Linked DNA regions of Homo sapiens: region 1 is linked to region 2. Evidence: promoter capture Hi-C in human tissues and cell types (Jung and others, 2019). All regions are on one chromosome and are shown on one strand. Each heading gives the region's core, a stretch centred on a gene start or on the middle of the fragment in contact. The rest is flanking DNA. Distances are from core to core; before and after follow the strand shown. Region 1 holds the start of LOC124901091 (a long non-coding RNA gene). Region 2 holds the start of EIF4EBP3 (eukaryotic translation initiation factor 4E binding protein 3).

What was found. Contacts are between HindIII fragments. The study calls those that stand out against the background at their distance.
Region 1: a contact is called between a fragment that was not itself captured here and the fragment with the promoter of EIF4EBP3 in region 2, in 1 of the 25 tissues and cell types used here (dorsolateral prefrontal cortex).

What each region holds. Positions count from the first base shown.
Region 1 is chr5:141,512,973-141,520,008 of GRCh38, forward strand. It overlaps DIAPH1 (diaphanous related formin 1), which reads right to left. Exons shown (of 28, transcript NM_005219.5): 28 at 2,049-4,036. The coding sequence ends at 3,879. It overlaps LOC124901091 (a long non-coding RNA gene), which reads left to right and starts at 4,036. Exons shown (of 2, transcript XR_007058971.1): 1 at 4,036-4,676; 2 at 6,009-7,036. PCDHGA1 (protocadherin gamma subfamily A, 1) reads left to right here. Exons shown (of 4, transcript NM_018912.3): 4 at 1-3. It overlaps PCDHGA2 (protocadherin gamma subfamily A, 2), which reads left to right. Exons shown (of 4, transcript NM_018915.4): 4 at 1-3. It also overlaps PCDHGA3, PCDHGB1, PCDHGA4, PCDHGB2, PCDHGA5 and PCDHGB3, and 15 more genes. RefSeq lists enhancers at 562-1,187, 733-852, 1,188-1,813, 1,593-1,842, 1,814-2,439 and 2 more. The HindIII fragment of the contact is 3,163 bases long and covers 4,206-7,036 here.
Region 2 is chr5:140,542,205-140,549,066 of GRCh38, forward strand. It overlaps EIF4EBP3 (eukaryotic translation initiation factor 4E binding protein 3), which reads left to right and starts at 5,458. Exons shown (of 3, transcript NM_003732.3): 1 at 5,458-5,636; 2 at 6,702-6,862. The coding sequence starts at 5,534. ANKHD1-EIF4EBP3 (ANKHD1-EIF4EBP3 readthrough) reads left to right here. Exons shown (of 36, transcript NM_020690.6): 34 at 1-77; 35 at 6,702-6,862. RefSeq lists enhancers at 4,405-5,113, 5,114-5,820, 5,581-5,670, 5,821-6,528. The HindIII fragment of the contact is 4,539 bases long and covers 1,862-6,400 here.

The DNA.
Region 1 (7,036 bases), core at 4,537-7,036, 970 kb after region 2:
AAAGCTGAACGTTTCTGTATAAGCGATGGAAGCTCCTGGCATGTGTGCATGAAGTGATGAGCTGAGGTGGGTGCTGGAAGAAGGGCGGAATCGGGAGGCCACTTTGTGTCATTGCGCGTCTAGATGTTTCCGAATTGCGTGTGTGTGTGTGACTGTGCAATATGGTTGTGTATGCTTGCAATGCCGTTGTGCCTATGAGACAGTGTGCGATTGTGTGCCTATGGATCTGTGTACCGTGTGCCATTGTGTGATCGGTCCGCTGTGGGGGTGGGGATCTGAGTGCGGCGTGTCAGTGTGCAGTGGAGTGTGCAGTCTAAGCTTGCGGCTGTCTCCAGGCAGAAGAGGAGACCCCGGCGCGGGCGGGGGCGGGTTGGCGCCGGGCAAACGCCTTGGGTAGAGGGGAGAGGACGTTTCGTTAGTTCCCGCCCCTTCCTGACTAAAATTGCCTACCCGAAGCGCCCCGGAGGGCTTCACGGGAGGAGGGTAGACTCTCCTTTGCCCCCGCACCCCCACCCCCGCTGCCTAGGGGTTTTGGGAAAGCCGCGGGAGTGGGAGGGAATGCGGGAGGTGATTCTTCCAAAGCCAAGTCTGCAGCTCGAGCCTCAGTTTCCCCATCTGGAATTCGCCTTCCCGCTGACATCTCCGTAGCGAAGCCTAAGAAATTGGAGGGCTCATCCTCTTCTTGCGGGGGTCAAGGGGACTGAAAGGACGTGCAGGAAATGAGATCCATCGCAGACTCAGCTCCCCTCCCTCCTTCCTGTCGGTGCTTTTCCACTCACTCGCCTGCTCTCCCATCTCCCCGCCCCCTCCGCCTGCCTCCTCGAAGCACTGTGGGATTCCGAGGTTGCTGCAGCCAGAGAAGCTGCAGAAAAACACGGAGCTGGGGGTGAAGGGGGACTTAAAAGGGGAACTACCCGGAAGGACCCAAGAACACAAAGACAGAGCCACTGCGGTTATCTGGCTGGTCAGCAAGGGTATGCGGCTTCCTCCGCGCTGCGGAGGCTCCCAGAGCCAGGTCACCCATTCTGCCAGCTCAAGTCTGTTGTCATGGGAACCAAACCTTCCAACTTAAGAATCTGGGGGCGACTTTCTAGCGTGGGAGGAAGGGTGGTGTGCACGGTTGCTGAGATGGAAGCAGGGTTTTGTTACTCAGAGCCAGGCTGCGGAGGGGCGGGGTGCCGGGCGCCTGGGTTCTATTCCAGGCACAGCAGCAGACTGGCAGAGCGCGTGAGCAGCTGTGGTTTGTCCCCTAATTGGTATGTGTGCCTATAAAGCTCTGAACCAGAAAGGCGTGGCCTCCGGGGGGACGGGAGGGAGGCGGCAGGCAACCCATCCCCACACCTCAGGCCATACTGAGGAGGCAGCTGCCCAGGCTCCAGGGCTATTTAAAAGGCTTTTATTTCCAGTTCCAGAGCCCGCCCGAATGGGTTTGTGGTCCTCTCCAGGCCTCTCCCTGTCTATCCTGGGCCTGCTCATTGCTGGTCTGGCTTTTTTGTGCAGGTCATAACGTGCTCAGACAAGTATGGCTCCAAGTGGCAAGTCATCTGGAGCATGACCTCAGGCTCCCAACCTCTGCTGGGCAGGCTCAGGTTTCCACCCCAGGGTAAACCCCTCTACTCTGGAATGTGGTCTGTGGCCACCAACAGAGCAGAGGGGATGAGAAAATGGGAGCCAGATGCTTCCCTCAGCAAGAGACACAGGTACTGCCAGGAAACCTTGCGTGACATCTGGGAACATGAAAGGTTCCAAGTGAGTTCCAAAAAAGGGCTCCAAACCAAGTAGCAGCAATGTGGAAGAGTCAGGGAGCTGAACCAGGCGCCCACTCCTTTACTGTGGCCAAACGGCCCTGAGGTGAGCTCTGGTGGGGCAGCAGCCACCATGTATTAATCATCTCTAGCCCTGTGCCCAAGTAAAGTGTCTGGCACCTTTAGCTTTTTCACAGTGATTTGTCAGGTCAACCAGGGATTTGAGGCAGGAAAGACTAGAGGAGCCTGGACTAGAGTGAAAAGAAAACAGCTCAGAAATTCACACAGGAAGCTGTAAGGCAGTACTGTTTCAATGCTTTATTAACAGTTGGAAACAAAACCAACAAACTGGAGGTGATGACATCCCAGAAGCCTATGAGGCAAGGGAAATAGGTTTGCATTTTGTCCCTCACACCTCTCTCTCTCTCTCTTTTTTTTTATTAAATGCATCTTAGCAAAAGTAGATTAAAAAAGAAAGGGTCAAAGCCCCAGATGTCAGCGAGCAGGGAGGAGGTGACCCAGGGGAGCAACAGACGCCCTGCATCAGAGTCCTCCCAGGAATAGTCCAAAGGAGCTGCTCTTGCCCCTTTATACACAAGCGCCAGCAACCAAAACCCTCCCTCCTGGCAATAAGGCCTCACTATAGTTGCCCTCATGCTTCCTAAGCTCTCTCTTGCTCTAATAACTCTAATTCTGGGCCAAGCCCAAGAGTGCCATTCTTTCTTCCTAGCTGGGGATGGAAAGCTGAGAGGGGCACAAGGAGGGCAAAAGTATCACCCTAAGCCAGAGAATTGCAGCTTCCTGTGGTTGGGGCCACCAAACAGTTCAGTGTGCCCACCCACTTCTCTTTTAGAAGAGAGCTGGGGTACAGTGTATGAAGGCACTCCTGGTGCCCAGTTCCCCAGAATGTCCAGTTAGCATCTGCACATTTGGCTTGATACATTTATACATTTATAAAAAACTCTGTGGTCTTAGAGTTCCTGCTACTCTTAGGCCTGGCCCAGCTCAACCAGAGAAGGGGTTCCTCCTGTGTCGGATTCCCTGGGAGAGAGGATCTGCCTTGGACTCAAGGGTCCAGAAGGTCCAGGGGCACATTCAGGATTGGGCCTGTGAGAAGAAATCCCAGAACTCTGTAACCTGCCACCAAAGCTTCTTACATTATGGAGGGGAAAGGGGGAAGGAACAGTTTTCTTTAAAAAAATTTTTTTTTTCATACAAAAATAGATCCATTTGCAAAACAATTTCTCAGCCAGGAGGCTCCACCTCCCATTTCCTTGTAGACAGAGGGTGAGGTGTTGGGATGGTCACAGTACAACCCATAGTCCAGATGAGATGCACCAAAGCTCAGGGAAGGCATGAGGAGGGAAGGTGGCTCAGTAGCCTGGGGTTGGTGCAGAGCGTCCAGAGAGGCAAGGGCATAAAGCGTGGCAGAAGCTGGGGGCAGGTCCCACACTGTCGCTATGCCCTGCCTGCCTGCCCACAGGCTCTGGCCTGGGCCACAGCACAGCAGGGAAACTGGTCCAGATCCTTTGCTTTGGAGGCCTTTCCCAGGAAGGTGGGGTAAAGGTGGGATTTGCTCCCTGCTTCCTTAGGAGCAGCTCCCAGTGCCACACCACTAATAATAAATAACCACAGCCAGGAGAGGGAAGAGCAGAGACAACAGCAATGAAAGGAGGGATCTAGCCCAAAGGTTTACAAGCCCCATGCTATTCTCAGGGCCAGAGAAACCACAAAAGAAAAGCACAAATCCAGCAAGACTGACCTAGGGGGGAAAGCCCATTAGAAAGTCAGGGCTGAGAAAAAGCAGGCTGGGCCTTGTCTGAGATGAGGCCCTCTGAGTAACAGAGAGGAGACAGGGTTAAGGCAGCAAACATGGACCCTGCTTTGGTAATACAACAGCCAGGGCTGGCTAAGTCGGGCTCAGGCCTCCCCTGCACTGCCCTTTCCTTCTGGCCTCCAGGCAGCTGAAGCTGTATGTGATGTTGAGAGAGCAGCAGGCCAGAGAGAAAGACAGGGTCAGGGTGGTGGGAGTGGCCACCCCAGAGGAATATCCCCTTGAGCCTTTAGGCACATGCTGCAGGGCAGGACAGTCTGCGGCTCCGCTGAGGAGCTGCCGCGGTCACAGGACCCACATTAGCTTGCACGGCCAACCAACTCCTTGGCTTCCTCAAGGATTGTGGGGAATGTCTCACTGTTCTTGGACACCTTGGCAGGAACAGCAGCCATGGCATCATCCTTGGTCAGCTCCGAAGCTAGCAGAGATGTGACTGCACACCCGGCCTTCCTGTTGGCTGCAAGAGAAGACGAGAGATTCTGTCTATGGAAGGCCTCATTTCTAATTTCTTTCAAACTCTACAGCAGATAATCAGCGTAAGCCATGCAGACATGACTACCTTGGCCACTTCACAGAGGCCCTTACTTTGAAGAAAGGGGCAGAGATCCAGCATGTGGAATATATTGTTGGGTGGCAAAGAATGTAAGAGAGTGTGGTGCAACAGGAAAGCAAGCCTTGCCCCCTTGCTTCCCTGTGTGAAAACAGCACAAAAGTTTGAACACAGACAGACAGAACTGGGCTGAAGTGTTAGCTATGTGACTTAAGGAGAGATGAAGTATTCAAAGTCTATTTTCTCGTAATAGGGATGTTGGAATTAAATAGACTAAAGTTTAGTACATAGTATTATTTTTGTTTTCTTGACAGGTCCCAGGAAACTCCTAGGCCAAAACACTTCTCAGTCAGCCCTGGGAGGGTTGTCCCTAGCAGAAGGCAACCTTCCGTAAGTGGCTGGAGAGACTCCCGCAAAGAGGAACAGCAGCCACGCACTGACACCGCACTCCCACGTGTTCCTCCAACAACAGATGCCCACATGCCTTAGCTCTTTCCCACCCCTTCAAAGGTAGCAGCCGTAATACAAATGCCAAGGGCCCTACAAGGTGTGTAGAGTATGTGGGGGTGGCATGGCGGGGGGGAGGTAGTAATAAAAACTATGCCAGGGAAGCAGAACTGGGATAAAGATGGACAGGAGAGGACCCCTACCAAGAAATCTCAGCCCAGGTGGCTAAGAGATGGTCAAGTTCCGGCTGTCATACCAGATTAGAAAAGAAGAACCAAATCAATCCACGAGTTTCTGTTCTAACTGCTGGGTTTCATCCCCAAGACTCTCATATTCATTTATGGTATCTAGGCTTATGGCCCCAGTATCTGCAGCAGGAAGGCCACTCCTTGAGACCATGCCCATCTCATGATGTTTCCTCCTCCCATGCCCCAGAACAGCACAGAGCAACTGTGTATACACAAACAGCTGTCTGGGACGAAAGAAGCCTGACACGAAAGGCCATATGTTATGGGTCAGCTTCTGCGAAATGTCCAGCACAGGCAAACCCAGAGATAGAAAATAGACTGGTGGTTGCCAGAGGCAAGGGGAGGGGAGAATCAGTAGTGACTGCTAATGGGGATTATGAAGTTTTTCTTCTGGGGATGATGAAACGTCCTGGAATTAGATAGTAATGGTTATACAATCTTGTGGATATTCTAAAACCCCTGAATTATACATTTTTAAAAGGTGAATTTTAGGTATGTAAATGATAGCTCAATTGGAAAAAAAAAAAAAAAAAAAAGACTTCCTGGAGATCTGGGAAAGCTGGAGTGGAGAAAGCAGTACCGGAATGTTTTAGAAGCAGGACCAGATGAAAGAGCCGAGCACTCCTAAATAAAGACCAAGACTGGGGCAGCTGCATGACTGGAATGAAGCGCCTTTTTGGACCAGCAAAAAGCTTTAGGTAGGCAGAAGCCAAACAGGATCAGATAGCCCGTCTTTTTTTTTTTTTTTTTGATGGAATCTCAGTCGCCCAGGCTGGAGTGCAGCAGCGCAATCACAGCTCACCGTAGCCTCAACCTCCCAGGCTCAAGTGATCCACCCACCTCAGCCTCCCTAGTAGCTGGGACTATAAGCATGTGCCACCATATCTGGCTATTTTTGTATTTTTTTGCAGAGATGGGGTCTCTCCATGTTGTCTAGGCTGGTCTTGAACTCCTGGGCTCAAGCAATCCTCCCACCTTGGAACCTAAAGTTCTGGGATTACAAGCATGAGTCACCACAGCCTGCCAAAGCCCAAGTCTTAACCAGGTCTTCTCTCCCTGCAGAGCCATGACCCAGAGCTACTGTTTTCATCCCAGGAGAGGCTGCCCATAGATCAAGCAGGGAACACGCAGCATGCACACAGGTTACCAATTTAAAGGTCTCCTCCTCCTCCTCTACTTCCCAGGGGCACAAGAGGTTGTCTACCAAGAGGAGAAAGAATAGTGAAGACCCTGACTGACAGCCACAGGACTTATCTAGTTACAGATCATAGGTATGTGCCCGAGACTGTGGGATTTTCACAAAACCATTTATTGGATTATGAACATAAACTAATGCCCCGTGACTGAGACAAGTGAGGAAAAGGAGCCTACGTGAGTGTGACTATGATGGTCTACATGTGTGCATTTCTCATACTGTCCTTACCACCAAAATCTTCCTCAGGCCTCCTACATTTCCACTCTCTTCTGAAGTACTCCCTCTCTAGACCCCATTTCTCATATCCAGAAGGGTAGTAGTTTCCTATCATTTTATTATTTCTTTGAATTCAGTCTCCAACAGTTGAGAAGACACTGCGACTCTGTGCATGTGTGTGTGTGTGTGTAACTCTAGTGGTATATATATGTTGAAATAACATCTGACTCCAGACCTTGGGAAAAGAACACTGGGCCACTTGTCCTGGGCAACACAGGAGAAGGCAGAGGTCCCATGTGGTAGGTCTTTAGCTGCTGCTTTCTGTGGTTTCTTCCTCCAAAATAAGAAGATACCAGTTGTACCTAACCAAGTGGTGTTTCTAGACTTTTCTGGACTCAAGAAGCTTCTGATGTATTACAAACTTCATAAGAACCAGGAGCAGAGAGTAGGTAGGGAGAAGATCAAAATTTCCCTTTTAAGCCTTGAAAGCCTATACACCAGGGAGGGTGTGATTTGGCCTAAGGTCAGGGGATGAGAAAGCTCTTGTTGGAACAGGTCTCCCAGCTTTCCACTCACTCACCATTATGCTCAGCAGGTTGAACAGTCAAGAAAAACTGACCTCCCCATGCTTCCCCCAACTTACTCACTTGTTATTAGACTATTGAAAAGTAGCCATAGAACCAGATAAATATTTTGACTACAAGAGAACAGTCCCACAGGCTGTGTGGGAAAAGGGAACAATGTTGAGATACTGGTGAATGCTCTCTGAGGACAGATTCCTAGAAGTTAGGGGTGGGCTAG
Region 2 (6,862 bases), core at 4,208-6,707:
GGGGAAATCCCATCACCTCAGCTAACCAGACCGAAGAAGAGAATTGGACGGCCGATGGTGGCCTCTCCTAACCAGAGGTAAGAAATTTCAGGACTTGGAACTACGGTTTCCCTCTCTTCATGTAGATTCTGGCCAAGTCCTCCCCACAATCCGAAAACTAGTGCAAGAGAGGACCATCCTTAGTTTAAGTTAACTTACAGAAGTGGAGGCCGGGCATGGTGGCTTACGCTTGTAATCCCAGCACTTTGGGAGGCCGAGGTGGGTGGATTATCTGAGGTCAGGAGTTTGAGACCAGCTTGGGCAACATGGTGAAACCCCATCTCTACTAAAAATACAAAAGTTAGCCAGGTGTGGTGGCATGTGCCTGTAATCCCAGCTACTCAGCAGGCTGAGGCAGGAGAATCGCTAGAACCCAGGAGGTGGAAGCTGCAGTGAGCCAAGATCACGCTACTGCACTCCAGCCTGGGCAACAGAGCAAGACTCTCTCTCAAAAAAAAAAAAAAGAAAAGAAAAGAAAAGAAAGGGAAAGGCTGGCTACATTATAATTTCAAGCCAGAGAGAGGAGTACTTAGTATATGTGGTTCCTTCCCACTGTTTAAGACCTTTGGGGCCGGGTGCGGTGGCTCATGCCTGTAATCCCAGCACTTTGGGAGGCTGAAGCGGGTGGATCACCTGAGGTCAGGAGTTCGAGACCAGTCTGGGCAACATGGTGAAACCCCGTCTCTACTAAAAATACAAAAATTAGCCGGGCGTGGTGGCATGCACCTGTAATCCCAGCTACTCAGAAGGCTGAGGCAGGAGAATCGCCTGAACCCAGGAGGCGGAGGTTGCAGTGAGCTGAGATCATGCCATTGCACTCCAGCCTGGGTGACAAGAACGAGACTTCGTCTCAAAAAAAAAAAAAAAAAAGACCTTTGGACCACATTGTAAATCCAAGAAAAGGCAAGCAAGCTTGTAGGAAAACAGCTTCTGAATGAACATCTTGTTCTCTGACTAGCAAGAAGTATTTCTACCAAGACATACAACTGGTTATGATGTCTTCCCAGTGGACCCTGCCCCCTATAGTGAGGGGCTCTGGTAATGCTGCATTTTCTATTTATCCTCAGTGATTTGTCATTTGCAAACAGGCAGGTTCATGCGCCTCCATCCTCTCCTTTAGGCAATGGGTGAGAGAAAGGTGGTTTTAAGCATCAAAAACTTAAGTGTGTTAAGACCACCTCCAATAAAAGGCATGACCCTGGGCTTCAACACCTAATTTGGAAAAGATCATGAATCAGACGATCTTGTTTGCAAACCTATTTTGTGATTACTTTTCACATTCTGTTTTATCTTGATGGTATATTAATGTGAATCCAAAGTAATTTGCCTGATAACAGAGACCTGGTATTTCCTTATAGGCTTAATCAGATCTCTGGGGGTGGGGCCTGGGCATAGGTATTTTTTTTAAACACTTCCATATTCTAATAGGTAATTAGTTGTTTTTTGTTTTTTGTTTTTTAATGAGACAGAGTCTCACTCTGTTGCTTAGGCTGGAGTGCAGTGGCGCCATGTTGGCTCACTGCAACCTCCGCCTCCTGAGTTCAAGCAATTCTCCTGCCTCAGCCTCCCAAGTAGCTGGGATTACAGGTGCACACCACCACACTTGGCTAATTTTTGTATTTTTAGTAGAGATGGGGTTTCTCCATGTTTGCCAGGCTGGTCTTGAACTCCTGACCTCAAGTGATTTGCCCGCCTCAGCCTCCCAGAGTGCTGGGATTACAGGCGTGAACCGCCTTGCCCAGCCAGTAATTAGTATTGACCCTCTGATTTAAATTCTTGTTTCTTCATCCAGATTGCATGGATGATGAATCTGGCTTTCTCTCTAAAGCCAATTACCTATTCCCCAGCCCTTACAGCACACAGTGACTCCAGAAGAGTTAGCTGCAAGCAGTAGTCATTATAGTAGTAGTAACTGTGGCTATTATTTTGTGGTAGAGATTAGTAGAAGGAAGACCTCACTTCGACAATGACCGTTCTTGAAAACTTTTGATACTTTTCTCCTGATTTTCCTATTTCCGACTCATCTTTCTCAGTCTCTTTTGGTGAATTCTTTTTCTCTACTATCTTTTAAATAAATAAATGTTGATGTGCCCAGGCTTCTACACTGTATCTTCTCCCCAGATGATCTCATCCCACATTTATTTATTTATAAATAGAGATAGGGTCTTGCTGTATTGCCCAGGTCTTGAGCTCCTGGGCTCAAGCGGTCCTCCCACCTCAGCCTCCCAAAATGCCAGAATTAACAGATGTGAGCTACCGATCCTAGCCCATCCCCACACTCTTGAATTTCACACCACCCAAATTTGAGCCACTAACTCAGAGTTCTCCCCATGGCTTCACTATATCTAGCTTCCTCCTGTGCTCCATCTGAACACATATTATTCATTCCCTCATATAAGATATGCTGCTCTTCTTGTTTTCCCTATCATATTAGTTGGTGCTACTAGCCACCAAGACTCTCAAGCCAAAAGACTGAAAATTATCCTAGTTTACACTTTCCCTCACCCCACTCTTAATCAGTCACTTTATTCTTCCTCTGTGTATCTGAATCTCATCCACTTCTCTCCATCCTCACAGCCATCGCCCGTTTGCCCACCTGGTTTCACTAGACTGGACTCTACCCTCAAATCTCACCATCCTCCACCCTATTCTCCCATTCCCCCTGTCAGACACTTCCTCACGTTGCATAAAAGGTTAGTTATCATAAATGATTCACTACAATCTGTTCCCAAGCTTTACCCTCCAGCACTGCTAAGACACTTCATTTTGGCATGCACCATTTTGTAAGATACTCAAAATCCTTTTCGGGACAATAAAATATACATACCCTTGATACCTGAAGTGTGTTTCTGAGGCCCTGAAGCGTTTGCATTACTGTATTAAAAACTCACAGTTGCAGTCAGGCCCGGTGGCTCATGCCTGTAACTCCAGCACTTTGGGAGGCCAAGCCAGGCAGATCACTGGAGATCAGGAGTTCGAGACCAGCTTGGCCAAGATAGTGAAACCTGATGTCTGCTAAAAATACAAAAAATTAGCCCGGTGCGGTGGTGGGTTCCTGTAATTCCAGCTACTCAGGAGGCTGAGGCAGGAGAATCGCTTGAACCCAGGAGGCAGAGGTTGCAGTGAGCTGAGATCATGCCACTGAACTCTAGCCTGGGTGACAGAGCAAGACTCCATCTTAAAAAAAAAAAAAAACCAGCCAGGTGTGGTGGCTTATGCCTGTAATCGTAGCACTTTGGGAGGCCGAGGCAGGCTGATCACCTGAGGTCGGGAGTTCAAGACCAGCCTGACCAACATGGAGAAACTCTGTTTCTACTAAAATTACAAAATTAGCTGGGTGTGGTGGTACATGCCTGTAATCCCAACTACTCAGGAGGCTGAGGCAGGAGAATCGCTTAAACCCGGGAATCGGAGGTTGCGGTGAGCCAAGATCATGCCATTTGGGCGGCAAGAGCGAAACTCCATCTCAAAAAAAAAAAAAAAAAATCCACAACTGGCTGGGCACGGTGGCTCATGCCTGTAATTCTTGTTTCGGAGGATGCCTGTTTGGGAGGATCGCTTGGGCCCACAAGTTTGAGACCAGCCTGGGCAACATAGTGAGACCCCGCCTTTACAAAAAATTTAAAAATTAGCCAGGTACAGTGGCATGCACCTGTGGTCCCAGCTATTGAGGACACTGAAGTGGGAGGGTCACCTGAGCCCAGGAGGTTGAGGCTGCAGTGAGCCATGATTGTACCACTACACTCCAGCTTGGGTGACAGTGAGACCCTGTGTCAAAAAAAAAAAAAAATCCAAAATCTCACCCAGACCAATACTGTATCAGAATTATCATTTTAACAATATCTCCAGATGATTTATATGCACATTAAAGTTTGAGAAGCTGGCCAGGTGTGGTGGCTCACACCAGCACTTTGGGAGGCCGAGGCAGATAGGTTACTTGAGCTCAGGAATTCGAGACCAGCCTGGGCAACATGGTGAAACCTTGTCTCTATAAAAAATCCAAAAATTAGCCCGGTGTGGTGGTGGGCACCTGTGGTCCCAGCTACTCAGGAGGCTGAGGTGGGAGGATGGCCTGAACCCAGGAGGCAGAGTTTGCATTGAGCTGAGATTACACCACTGCATTCCAGCCTAGGCAGCAGAGCAAAACCCTATCTCAGAAAATAAATAGTTTGAGAAGCAATCTTTTTTTAAATGAGTGAAGAAATCAGACCTAAGGAGAAATCTGATGAAGCCAGAGCTGAGTTAATATTGATAAATGGATGCAGTCAGGTGGTCTATACTTAATTTTTGGTGAGGGGAAGGGACAGTGGAGGCAGTATTGATTTTGAGGAAGCCAAACAGGACAGCCTGATGAATTCAAGATTTCCAGCATATATACATCTTCACCAATCCCACCACCTTGCTCCAGCCTGTCATATCACTGTGTCTACATAAAAAAAAAAAACAAAAAAAAAACTCCAAGGCCAAACTCTCTGACCTTTCTTTCCTTCTAAAGACCAAGCCCTCCTCACTAGCCCCCTGCCCCTCCTTAGTTAACTGGCAAAGAGATCAAAGGGCAGGCCTTCTGACTGGTGATGCCTCAGCTGTAGCCCCCAAACTTGACTCATCCTTTTATTAGTCCAGGTACCACTTCTTCAGAAAGATGACCAGCCCTCACTGACCTTCCCCTTCCTGCTGTGCTCCAGGCCATCAAGGCATGTGTCACCCAGGCTGGAGTGCAGTGGTGCAATCTCCGCTCACTGCAACCTCCGCCTCCTGGGTTCAACCTATCCTTCCACCTCAGCTTCCCGAGTAGCTGGGTCTACAGGCGCATGCTGCCGCACCCGGCTAATTTTTGTATTTTTAGTAGAGTCTAGGTTTCACCATGTTGCCCAGGCTGGTCTCAGACTCCTGGGCTCAAGCTATCCACCCGCCTTAGCCTCCCAAAGTGCTGGGATTACAGGCCGTGAGCCACCGCACCCGGCCTTGTACTGTTACTGTTTATGGGAGGCAGTACACAGCTGGGCTTAAGGGCACAGTCCTGGAATCAGATGCAGTCAGATTTGAATCCCAGCTTCCCTTCCTGCAAGATGTGTGACTTTGGCTAATCATAGTGCTTTACTATCCAAAAGTTGGCAAGGAATGGGTGAACTAATACAGGATAAAAACGCTTGCCCTACTTCACCTGCCCCCAGCTCCCGGCTATAAACAGTAAATAGCTGAGCTGCTGCAGCACTCAGGCAGGTTGGCCAGCGCTGGGCCAGCAGGAACTGGAAGCTGGTGTGGGGCCTGGGACTTTGGACGCATTTCCAGCTTTCTCTGAACCGGGCTGGCTTCCTAGCAGATAGGGCGGGACCGTCGGGTTGAGTGACGGCCGGTGGCCCGCCCTGGGCGTGACGTTGTTCTAGTGTTGTTGCCAGCAGCTGCACGTGGTCGGCTGAGTCCGCCTCAGACTCAGAGCTGCGCTCCTCGACCTCAACGCCAGGCGGTTACTTTGCTGCTCCTCCCGCTCGCTATGTCAACGTCCACTAGCTGCCCGATTCCCGGGGGCCGGGACCAGCTGCCCGACTGCTACAGCACCACGCCGGGGGGCACGCTATACGCCACTACCCCCGGAGGTCAGCGGGCCGGGCAGGGGTCCGCAGGCTGCGGACATATTAGCGCGTGCGTGTTGTTGCGGGGCGGGGGTAGGGGAGGGACAGACCTAAGACTTGTCCGCAGGCCCCTCTACAGGTTGTAGCTTTGGGGGAGAATGTTTGGAGCGGAAGCTCAGTTCCCAAAAACTTCTAAGTGATGCAACAAGGCCATGAGCCTAGCTTCCGGGTGTTTGGGCTGTAATCCTTCACTGTGGCCTGGGTTCTTGGAGCCTTACACACGCTCCTTACCCCTCGCGACTTTGCTTCCTAGGAATAGGGGCCAGGGCCCCCTACTGAGCGTGACCTCAGCCGGAAGCACCGGGTCTTGAGAAGTGGAGTAGTTAGAACAGTTGGGGCAGTTGCTCCGTTTTTGTGCTGCTGGCTGGCGTCTGTTTGGTTGGGCGAGCAGCCTGGGATCACGAGCTGCTGGGCTCCCGACCCAGGGATTCCTGCCACGCGGAAGCGGAGGGGAGGAACAGGGCAGGACCCTTTGAGGACATTATGCGGGCCAAGTTCCTCTGAGCTAGTGTGAACCTTATAGGACCTGGGAGGGGTCAGGATTAGAACAGTACGTTTCTCCTCCCTGCAGGAGATAGCCCAGGTAACAGCACTGGGTGGAACCCTTCACAACTGCTATTTCACTTCTTGAACCACCTGAGGCTGTTAGTCTAGGTCTCACCTTCACTGGTGAGACCAAAGCAGAGGTTTCAGAGTGGTAGAGGAGCAGCATGAAGTACCTGAACTCAAAGTTTGGTGTTCCTCTTAGAGCCAAGATCTGAAGCTCTCCCAAACATAAAGCCCCTGCCTATACCAGCTGGGATGCCCCCCTTGCTTTATACCCACATCTTGGTTAGGTCTGGAAGATTTTAAGCACTATGAAGGCTTGTCTGCTGAGAACCTAGCTGGGCTTCAGAGCCGATGTCCTTTGATACACAGGGAAATTTGACACCACCCTCACCTCCAGGCCCCAAAAGGCCTGAGTCTGGGACCCCAGTCACCTCGGTACCCAAGCTCCTGACTCTTACCTCAGTCCCAACCCCTTGACAGGCACCAGGATCATCTACGACCGAAAGTTCCTGCTGGAGTGCAAGAACTCACCCATTGCCCGGACACCCCCCTGCTGCCTCCCTCAGATTCCCGGGGTCACAACTCCTCCAACAGCCCCTCTCTCCAAGCTGGAGGAGCTGAAGGAGCAGGAGACAGAGGAA